3 separate regions of the Homo sapiens genome follow, and regions 1 and 3 are each linked to region 2. Evidence: promoter capture Hi-C in 16 types of primary human blood cells and fetal thymus (Javierre and others, 2016). All regions are on one chromosome and are shown on one strand. Each heading gives the region's core, a stretch centred on a gene start or on the middle of the fragment in contact. The rest is flanking DNA. Distances are from core to core; before and after follow the strand shown.

The links. Contacts are between HindIII fragments. The CHiCAGO score rates a contact against its expected background, and 5 or more counts as called.
Region 1: a fragment that was not itself captured here is called in contact with the fragment with the promoter of NEK1 in region 2 in 1 of 17 cell types (activated CD4 T cells); the score reaches 6.7 in activated CD4 T cells.
Region 3: a contact is called between a fragment that was not itself captured here and the fragment with the promoter of NEK1 in region 2, in 5 of 17 cell types (non-activated CD4 T cells, naive CD8 T cells, monocytes and 2 more). The highest score is 9.6, in non-activated CD4 T cells.

Annotation. Positions count from the first base shown.
Region 1 is chr4:168,466,833-168,470,442 of GRCh38, reverse strand. The region is part of intron 4 of DDX60L (DExD/H-box 60 like); the gene reads left to right. Among named protein-coding and RNA genes, the nearest start is that of DDX60L, 12 kb to the left of the region's middle. The HindIII fragment of the contact is 3,219 bases long and covers 195-3,413 here.
Region 2 is chr4:169,610,143-169,613,954 of GRCh38, reverse strand. NEK1 (NIMA related kinase 1) reads left to right here and starts at 1,372. Exons shown (of 36, transcript NM_001199397.3): 1 at 1,372-1,733; 2 at 1,812-1,935. RefSeq lists enhancers at 1,300-1,359, 1,780-1,899. The HindIII fragment of the contact is 11,256 bases long and covers 1-3,812 here.
Region 3 is chr4:168,504,894-168,508,571 of GRCh38, reverse strand. All of the region lies in intron 1 of PALLD (palladin, cytoskeletal associated protein), which reads right to left. All of the region lies in intron 1 of LOC107986198 (a long non-coding RNA gene), which reads left to right. Among named protein-coding and RNA genes, the nearest start is that of PALLD, 9.7 kb to the right of the region's middle. The HindIII fragment of the contact is 1,738 bases long and covers 1,420-3,157 here.

The DNA of each region.
Region 1 (3,610 bases), core at 555-3,054, 1.1 Mb after region 2:
TGTGCCACGGTTTGTTTACCCATTTTCTTGTTGAGTGGACACTTTCCTGTTGAGCAATCTCTTTCAATATCTTGCCTAGATGAATAAAGCTACTATGTGCATTCACATGCAAGTCTTCGTGTGGACGTAAGTTTTTATTTTCCTTGTGCATGTATCTGTGGTTGAAATATATGTTTTATAAAACTGCCAAAGCTTTTCCTAAGGTAGTTGTGCCCCTTTACACTCACTCCAGCAATGAATAACAGTTCTGGTGCCCTGTGTAGTTGCAAACATTTGTATTTGGTCAGTCCAGCCATTCTGGTGGATGTGTAGTGTTATGTCCCTGTGTTTTAATTGGTATTTATCAAATGGCTAATGATGTTGCCTACTTTTTCAAGTGCTTATTGTTCATTTGTATACTATGACTTGTGAAGCATCTGCTCGTATCTTTTGACCATTTTAAATTGGGTTCTTTATCTTTTTAATATTGAGTTGTAGTAGTTCTTGATATATTCTGTATACAACCTCTTGTCATGTATATTATTGCAAATATATTTTCCCAGTCTGTGGCTTGTCACTTCATTTTGAGACAGAGTCTCGCTCTGTCACGTAGGCTGGAGTGCAGTGGCGCAATCTTGGCTCACTGCAACCTCTGCCTCCCGGGTTCATGCCATTCTCCTGCCTCAGCCTCCTAAGTACTTGGAACTACAGGCATGCACTACCATGCCCGGCTAATTTTTTTGTATTTTTAGTAGACATGGGGTTTCATCGTGTTAGCAGGATGGTCTCAATCTCCGGACCTCGTGATCTACCCGCCTCTGCCTCCCAAAGTGCTGGGATTACAGGCATCAGCCACCGTGCCCGGCTGCCACTTCGTTTTCTTAGTACTATCTTTGGATGACCAGATATTTTAATTTTGGTGAAATCTAACTTATTATTCTTTAATGGTTATTGTGCCTGTATCCTGATAAGAATCATTGCCTATCTCTTAGTCACAAAGATATTTTCCTATATTTATTAATAATTCTAGAAGTATGTAGTTTCAGCTTTTGCATTTTGGTCTATGATATTTCTTGAATTAATTTTTGTGTGTTTGTGGTGTGAATGGGGGATTGAGGTTGATTTGTTCCAGCATCCATTGTTGAGAACATTTTTCTTCCACCAGTGGATTGCTTTGGTTTCTTCATCAAAAAATCAAATGATTATATATGTGTAGGTCCATTTCTGGGCTTTCTACTATGTTCCATCAAAGGATTTAACAAATTACCAGTACCACAATGTCCTGATTTGTGTAATTTTATAGTAAATCTTGAAGCCCACTTTGTTCTTCTTTGTTTAACTTTGGCTATTCTAGGTTCTCTGCATTTCCACACGAATTTTAGAATCAGCTTGCCAATTTCTATTTAAAAAGAACGATGGGATTTTAATGATATTCATTAAATTTGTAGACCAATATAGTCTTTCAGTTAGTGAACACAATATGTATCTCTGTTTTTTAAGATCTCTAATTTGTTTTATCAGTTTTGTAGTCTTCAGTGTGGAGGCGTTGCACATCTTTTGCTAAATCTATTTCAAGATATTTCATGTTTTGATCTTACCGTAAATTGAATTTTTAAAAATAATTTTTTAGTTTTTGCTGCTTGTATATAGAAGTAGAATTGATTTTTGTTTGTTAACTGGTATCCTGCAATCTTATTAAAACAACTTATTAATTTCAGTGGCTTATTTGTATATTTCTTAGATTTTTTAATGTCTTCAGTGAATAAATACATGCTTATTTCTTATTTTCCAATTTTATTTTTTAATTGCTTTTTCTTGCCTTATTACAGTGATTGGCATCTCTAGAAATGCTGAAGTAGAGTGAGTGGGAATCTTTACCTGGTTCTTGATCTTAAAGGGAAAGTATCCATTATTTCCCTACTAGGTATCATATTAGCTGTAGTTATTTTACATATATCCATTATCAAATTGAGAAAATTTCTTCTTATTTTAGGTTTTCTGAGAGTTTCTATAATTAATAGGTGTTACATTTTAAAAAATGCTTTTTCTACATTTATGGAAACTCTGATACACCTTTCCTCTTTTACTTTCTTAATTTGGTAGATTACATTAAGTGATTTTTAAATATTAATTCAATCTTTTATTCCTGGGAAAACCTTAGTTGGTCATGATAGATATCCTTTCTTTAATATATTGCTGGGTTTGATTTGCTAATATTTTAAGTGTTTTTGGTATATAGTCATGAAAAACATTAATCTGTAATTTTACTTGTTTATTTATTTATTTATTTATTATTTGAGATGGAGTCTCACTCTGTAGCCCAGGCTAGAGTACAAAGGCATGGTCTCGGCTCACTGCAACCTTTGCCTCCCAGGTGCAAGCAATTCTTCTATCTCAGCCTCCTGTGTGGCTGGGATTACAGGCATGCGCCACCATGCCTGGCTGATTTTTGTATTTTTAGCAAAGATGGGGTTTCCCCATGTTGGTCAGGCTGGTCTTGAACTCTGGACCTCAGGTGATCTGCCTGCTTCAGCCTCCCAAAGTGCTGAGATTACAGGCATGAGCCACCGTGCCAGGCCAATTTTATTTTTTATAATGCCTTCGTTTGGTTTTGGTATCAGGATCATGCCGACCTGGTGAATGTGTTGAAAAGTCCATTTTCCTCTTCTATTTTCTGAAAAAGTCTTTATGAGATTGGTATTATTTCCTCAGACGAATTTGATAAAATTTGATCAAATTTTCCTGTGAAACCATTTGGGTCTAGAGTTTTCCTTGGAATAAAATTTTTGATAACAAAGTCAATTTCGTTAATAAATATAGGGCCATTTAGACTTTCTGTTTTATCTTGTGTCAGTTTTGTTAATTGTATATGTCAAGGGATTTGCCCGCCTTATCTAAGTTGTCTAATGTTTTGGCATAAAGTTGCCTATAATATTCTCTTATTTTCCTCTTATTGCCTAAAGATTTGTAGTGATGTTAGTGTTAGTTAGCTCCTTCTTTCATTTTTTTTTTTTTTTTGGAATGGAAACTAAATTTTCTTTTTTTAAAATTTGAAACAGGGTCTCACTCTGTCTCCCAGGCTGCAACATAGCAGTAGCATGATTTTGGCACACTGTAACCTCTGTGTCCTGGGCTCAAGTGAACCTCCCACCTCAGCCTCCTGAGTAGCTGGGACTACAGGCGTGTGGCAGCATGGTTGGCTAATTTTTGTATTTTTTATAAAGATGGGGTCTTGCTGAGTTGTACAGGCTAGTCTCCAACTCCCAAGGTCAAGCAATCCACCTATCTTGGCCACCCAGAGTGTTGGGATTACAGGCATGAGCCACTGTGCCTAGCCACTAAATATTTATTTTTTCATTCATTTTCAGATTATGCAGTTTTACACTGAATAACACAGAAGGAAACTAAAATTACCAACAGTTTATATGTAAGCTTGATTCCTGTCTTAAGGAAAAGAAGAACACTGCAAAAGCAACACGTATTCTAACAAAACGTGTTCTAACATGTTTTGTTAGAACACAAACAAAAAACCTCTAAAAAGCTTTCATGTTACACTCTCATTTTGTGAATTGGCAGCTGTCTGTGTCCCTTAAATCTTTGATTATCTGCTGCTTTCTGTGTAGCAGGCAAC
Region 2 (3,812 bases), core at 123-2,622:
GGTAATCTTCTTAGGTAACCTGCTTTATTTACTCATCAATATATCAATGGTATCTTTGTATGTCAATAAAGTAGATCTTGATTACTCTTTTAAATGGCTTTAGAGTATTTCATTGTTTGGATATATTATAATTTAATCAATTCTTTATTGTTATACATTTACAGTATTTCTAGTTTTTCTGGTTATAAACAATAACGGTTATCCTTGTATATAAATCATTGCTCACTTGTTCCAGAAGTTAAATTGCTGAGTCAAAGGATATGCATACTGCTAGCATACCTTCTAGAAAGACTGTAGCAGTTTGTAGTCCTACCAATAGTTTATGACATGAGCCTAAAGAATTATCTAAGGAGGTTAGCTGACTAGCCATTCTTCCTGTAAGCAGCAAAAAGAATTTGCTTAGATTAGTAATTGGCAACATTTCACTTCACTTTGATGTACAAAAGGATGTGGGTAGAACTACAATTGTGCATTCAGACATGATAATTCCTACTAACTGGGGGTAGGAGGGCCCACAGGAGTGTAGACTAGAAGTAGAAAGAATGAGGAAAATAAGTCTTTTGTAGCTGTATGGCGATTGAAGAGGAGATAAAACAAACTCTCCAGCTTTTCAGGTTGGGTGACTTGCAGCGCCATCGTCTGGCAAAGCCGCCAAAATCTTTCAATGTCCCTAGGAATAAAGTTGCCCTGAGTAGGGCCACTCAGGATGACGCCAGATGATATCCCTTATTATAGTTTTAGGGGAATCTCTTCCTACCTTCGCCAGTCCTGCAGTGAAAAAATGTACTTAGACTGCTGTACATTTCCAAACCCTTCAACATACAGACAAGTAATTTATACATACATTAGATGTAAAGGTGTAGAAAACCCCATACAGCTTTTTAAAAATATCTCAAGACTTAAACATTCTTCTGTTTCAACCATCCAAGATATAATAGGAAAAGACTTGCTTTTTAAAGCAAAATTGCTCTTTAAAATGTGGCATCCCTAAGTAGTGCGCTTTCATGTAAAATAAAAAAGTCCCTTTCTCGGTGTAGTAGCTGTGGGAAAATTTTATATGCTTTATATTCCAAATTGGTTTCAACTAGTGAGTTCTCTCCCGCATCTCTGCATGACTCTTAACAGCTTTACACTCTCTCCATCCTTTTCATCTCTCCCGTCTCGTCCTTTCTGTCTTCCCGCCTGCAGAGCCCGCCCCTCCCGTCCCTTCGCACAGCACCCCGCCCGCCCCTTCGCACAGCACCCCGCCCGACCCTACGGTTCTAGCCCAGCCTCACTGCTCCTTCCCAGCCGCCTCCGCTGCGTGCCGCCTTCCACGCGCTGACGTCACACGCCAGCGCCGGTGACGCGCCGGCCGCTCTCCCTTAGTCCGCATTCGCTCCAGGGTTTTGGGACCCTAGGTTGCGGAGTCCTTACCCTACCCTGGCCTCTCGAGCAGTTGTCCCCATAACTCGGAATCTAGAGCCGCTGTTGCGAGGCAGGAGCACGTGGCAGTCAAGTAGCTTCCCAGTCCCGAACGCCGCCCGTCCCCACCCCGCCGTGGCCACTAGCAACGACCTCTGTGAAGTTGGAGAGGCGGTAACGGAGGCACTCCCCCTGCTGCACCCCGCCGTTTCTACGGGGCTCAGAAACCAGTTTGTTTGTTTCGTCGGGGTAGTGTCGACCTGTCTTACGGGCGTCGCCCGAGACAGGACGGAGTCAAACCCGTGGTATCAACTGAAGACGAGTGTCAGGTGTGGAGAGTCTCAGTGCCCCCTTTCAGTCTGGACTGTGAGCTGCTGCTGGTTAGACAGTCTTGGTTTCTCTTTCAGGATGTCATTTTCAAAATGCGGGATGGTACCTCTGCTTTATTAAGCCCCGTAGGAAGACTGCCACACCTAGACTGATGCTTATTAGTCATCACCGTTATTCCTACTAACGTCCTGTGTCACTGAGGTGAGTTCCACTTGGGGGAAGGAATGACATGCAAAATGGTAAAAATCATCCTGGAAATGAGATGTGCGTAGAACTGCTTATATTGAGATTACACAGATACCTTAAGTGTTTGCAGGGAAAATACCTTAATCTCATTTAAATGTTAATTCTCTAAGACACTCTGTATTAACAAAGCGATTCTTGGACATTACGGTATTTTTAAAAACTAGAGCGGTAATGGGATTAAAATAATAGGAATCTTAGTATGGATAAGCAAGCATTTGCATTGCTTATGTTGTGTCCAATCTTAAATTACTGATAAATTTTAATTAGGAAGCGAATATGAGTAGTAGTTAGCTGGTTACCCTGTAATCTTAGATTTCTGTTTCCATGATTTGACACAGTTTCCATATGTAAGGCATTAATTGTTGTACTACTTTAAGAGTTTATCATAACTTTTTTTGCAGGCCTATTTTTTGTTCTTTAAGATCTGCTTTAGGAAGCAGAAATATTTTTTATTGCCTTGGTATGTTTCATTAGAAATGTTTATGAAGGATTAAAAGTGGCATCCAATCTAAGTTAATGACCTTTTTTTATGATGCAGCAGTATTGTAGAGCTGATGGAGGGGAGCCAAATTTGGAGAGAAGTAACTCCTTGTTTCTAGTTTACATTTGTCTGGTTTTAGAGGTTCTACAGATCTGTTTCACTTAAAATATCCATTGTTCTAGGTGAAATGTAAGGAGCCTATTTTGTGGGAAAACAGGTTTTTTTCACGTTAAAAGTCACTGTCAGGAATTTAATAAAGGTCGTCGGACTTGACCACAGAAGTTCTTTTGAGGTCGTGTGAATAGTACATTGACATTGTATTCCAAGTAAATTTTGCCCTGTCTAATCTCCTGCCTTCTAGTCTAAGTCATGAACATGACACCTTTTCACGAATGTACATTCTTTATTTACCTGTTGGTAGTTTCTACTACAAAATCTGTTGAATATTGTCTGAATAGACTTACAGAGAAGAAAAAATATTTTGAAAAAAGTCTAATAGAAATTCCATTTTTGCTTTCTGCTTTTTCGAATAAAGGAAGATAAAGAACTTTTTTCCTGAGAAGATAAATGGATCCCCTCCCACTATTCAAGATGGTATTTATTGCTTAGGCAGAACTGTATGTATGGATTGTAGCTGCATACAGCGCCAAAAGACTTCTTGAAACCTGTTGCCATGCCTTTACCATGTTTCCCTTCAAGACAGCCTGTCTATAGAATATCTGAAACACCTGATGAGAGCTTAATGCTTAACCTAAGTATGTGTTCCAGATTGATCGAAGTTGAGCTTTTCCATTCATATACTCTAAAATTGTTTATATGTGGCTCACAAAATTTTATTATGTCCAAAATTGCTTATTTGTGGCTTTAAAGAAATTCTTAGTGGCTGGGTGCTGTGGCTCTTACCTGTAATCCCAGCAGTTTGGGAGGCCACGGTGGGTGGATCACTTGAGGTCAGGAGGTTGAGACAAGCCTGGCTGACCTGGCGAACCCATATCTACCAAAAATACAAAAAATTAGACGGGCGTGGTGGTGCGTGCCTGTAATCCCAGCTACTTGGAAGGCTAACACAGGATAATTGCTTGAACCCGGGAGGCAGAGGTTGCAGTGAGCCGAGATACTGCCACTGCACTGTAGCCTGGGCGACTGAGTGAGGCTTGTCTCAAAGAAAAAAGAAAAAAAGAAAGAAATTCTGGGTCAGACGCTGTGGCTCACACCTGTATTCCCAGCATTTTGGGAAGCCGAGGCAAGTGGATCATTTGAGGTCAGGAGTTCGAGACCAGCCTGGCCAGTATGGCGAAACCCCGTCTCTACTAAAAATACAAAAATTAGCTGGGTATGGTGTCACACTCCT
Region 3 (3,678 bases), core at 1,039-3,538, 1.1 Mb after region 2:
CTGTGGTAGATTAAGCTGAAAATCCAAGGAAATAATTGCAACAAAACCTTTGATTCTTGACATGACGAAATTGTGAAGCCTAAGCTGGGATAGATGTACTACATGGACCAGAATTACCCACTCGAAGTGTATTTATGGACTATCTACCACATGCCTGGTAGTGCGCTAGGGACGGGGATATGACCTTGAAAAAGAGAAGGTTTTTGCCCTCATGGAACTTAATACAAATTACAACTAAATAATAAGCTTATATAATTGAGTATGTCTTTTTTTAAATTGTATTTTATTTTTTAAATTGACAAATAATAATTATACATAATTATGGGGTACCTAGTGATGTTTCAATACGTACAATTTATAGTGATCAGATCAGGGCAACTAGCATATTCATCTCTAACATTTATGATTTCTTTGTGTTGGGAACATTCAACATCTTCCTTCTAGCCATTTGAAACTATAGAGTATGTTATTGTTAGCTATAGTCATCCTGCAGTGGTATAGAAAAACAAAGTGCTGTGATAGCACCTAGAAGCAACAGCAAGGTCAGGATCAGGAAACCTTTGTGAAAGAGAGAAAGCTGAAAGAATGATGTGTGAGGGATGAGGAAGAGCGGGGAGGTGAAGAGGATACTGGCAAATATGTATTTTAAGACTTGGATCCCAGAGAGCACATGGCAGACTCAGGTAATTCTACTAAGCATTTCAGCTAAACAGAAATCTATCTGGAGATGGGAAAATAACCAGAGATAAGGCTAGAAAGCAGGAGTTAGGTCAGAGAGGGCCTGGAGCCATGCAGAGAACTTGCATTTTATGTTATGGGTAGTCAGTAGGCAAGGAAGAGTGTTAAGTCCTTGAGAAACATCACCAGACTTACATTTTTGAGAGATAACTGATTGCAGTCTGGATCCGGGACAGAGGTAGGGAAAGAGGAAGACAAGACTGACAGTAGGGCGGTCCGTGAGAAGGCTTGTGCAGTAATCCAGGGGGTGCACACATTTATCATGGTTTCACGTTTGGTGTTGCTGTCATCTGGACGTCTTCATTTTGGAGAATTCCTCATATTCTGAGGCTCAGTGAGAAACTGAACTCACTTGTAATGGGATGTGAAATCTCCAAGTATTTTCTTTCCCAGCCGCTTGGAGACTGGGCACAAGTCTTGGCACTTGGCCTAGACAGCGATTAGATGTGTCCTTCTTGGACTCTGAAGTGAGAGCTGGTGATTCAGGGAAGCAGTGGGTCCAGGGTCCATAAGATAGATGATAGAAAGGAAAGAACTTGGTAATTGATTAAAGGCAGAGGTGATGCAGAGGCAGGGTTACAGGTTTCTCACCTCAACAACCAGATGACTGGTACCATTAACTTACATGCTACAAGTGGAGGAACAAGTTTTTTTATTTTATTTTATTTTATTTTTTAAGCTTGATTTTGATTTGAGCCTTTTGCAGTTGAGGGACCTTTGGTAACTCTGGTGTTGATGTCTAGGAGATTTGAGATGCTGATCTAGAGCCCAGGAGAAGGGAGAACAGAGCTGGATTGGGGATTATTAGCCTATGGGTGGCACTTTAAGACATGGGAATGCATAAGGTCATCGAGGAAAAAAGAAGGAGAAGATAGAATCCTTCGAATAATCACAGGGAAGCAAGAAAAGCTAGATATCGTGGAAGCTGGGAAAGAAAATATCTCAGGAAGCAGTACATGTCCTTTTGATTTTTGATTTTAGCAACTTGGGAATATTTAGCACCATTGCAACAGCACTTTCGGTGTATGCAACAGAAATATAAGCCAGATTGCTACATGGAAGGAAAGGAAAGAAGGAAAGAAAGAAAATATTACAGGTGTGGTGGTTTGTTTTGAAAAGATCATAGAAAGAAGGAGAGACAGAAGGTAGTAGTTGAACAAAAGTATAGACTCTGGTGAGGTTTGTTCATTTTTAGGATAGAGCGCTGTAACATGTTTTATACAAACCAAATTAGGCAGTAAGAAGGGAGAAGCTGAAAATAAATGTAAAAAAGCGGGGATGATTTATAGGTCAGCTCTCAAAAGATGTAAGAAGAAATGAGTTATTATAGGACAAACGGAGTATGAGGTGTTCAGCTTCCAGTAGGAAGGGGGCAGTTCTTTCATTGTTAAAGGAGAGAAGTAACAAAGGGTGTATGTGTGTTGGGGCATGGGGGGCGGTAAGAGAGAAAGGGAGAGAGAGAGAAACATGAGATTCTCTGCAAAATTTGTAATAGAAAGAAAGGAGAGTTCCCAAACTGAGACTTCTGTGCATTGGAGGTTTATGAGGACAGAAGATGATTTGAAATAGCTGTTGTAGAAAAAGGGGGAAGGAAGTTTTGTAAGAAGGATTTATGGGTAGAGGTGAGGGCCTGGTTGAAGTTAGATGTGATGTATTTATAGTGTCATTAATCTGTGTGATTGTGCAATTCTCTCCACCAGAGCTCAGCCATCCAGGTGAAGGTACAGAGATAGATGATCCCAGTTTGACATGCAGGTAAAATGGGAGGGAAGTGGGCAAGGCCATTGAAAATATGGTCAAGGAATAGGTGGCCTTTGACATATATGCTGGGTTGGAATTCATGGGTAGGAGTTTGAATGTAGAGATTGTCTTTGTTTTTTTGAACCAATGTCAGAGTTGAGTAGTTGCAACAGAGACTATATGGCACATGAAGTCTAAAATATTTACCTGCACTTTTACAGGAAAAAATTGCCAACCCCTTCTATAGAACATTAGCTACCTAATGACTTCATATAACACATATAAAGGCAATTAATGATCACGATGATTGATAATGATAATGGCTAATAATGGACTGCTTACCCTGCGGTGGGCATTGTGCCCAGAGTCATCATGTAGATTATTTCATTTAAAACCCTCACAGCAGCCTCTGGTTTAGAAAGGAGGAAATGGAGGCAGAAAATCTGAGTGGGAGAACCAAGGTTTAAGCCCAGGGAATAACTCCAGAGCTCATGTTCTATGCACTTTACCATCTTACCATTGTAGTTTTCATAATTGAGAATCCTAAGCAATGTATCAAACTAACAAAACTGTGGATCAGAAATCAGAGTTCTGCTATTAATTCAATTGCTTTTTAGTTCCAAATGAACATAATATGATACATTTTAAAACTTCACAAGGAGCATTATATAACAAAGCTTAAAGCAAACTTCTGAATGATGAAAACATTTTCAATTCTTAATGTAGGGAGTGTTTGCTGGAGGCAGATTATCTCACCTGCTTATTAACTCATATTTTGGTTTTAAAGAGGCGCCATCTGACAGGATCCAGTAGTCAGGATTAGGTGTAGCTTTAAAACTGCTTGCACATTGAAAAAGAAAATAATAGTTCTATGGCATATCTGGTTCAGGCTTAATTTGCAAGCCAGTTATTGCCGCGGGAACATGCACGTGGTCTAGGGAAAATGCTCATTCAATGAGGATGAACAAGGGCGGTTTCCAAGCGGGCCAAGTTCACTGGAAAATTGTGCTTCAGAGATTTCCATGTCAGTCAGCACTCCAAAATGAAAAGGTCAAAATCAAAAGGAATGAAACACAATCACAAACATCTCCATCATTTGCCTGAGATTTCATGTTTTCTGTCAAACAGTGCTCTTGGTAATTCTATGCCGGTGTGATAGACACAGAAGATGAAATAGACTAAAAAGACCCACTAATACTG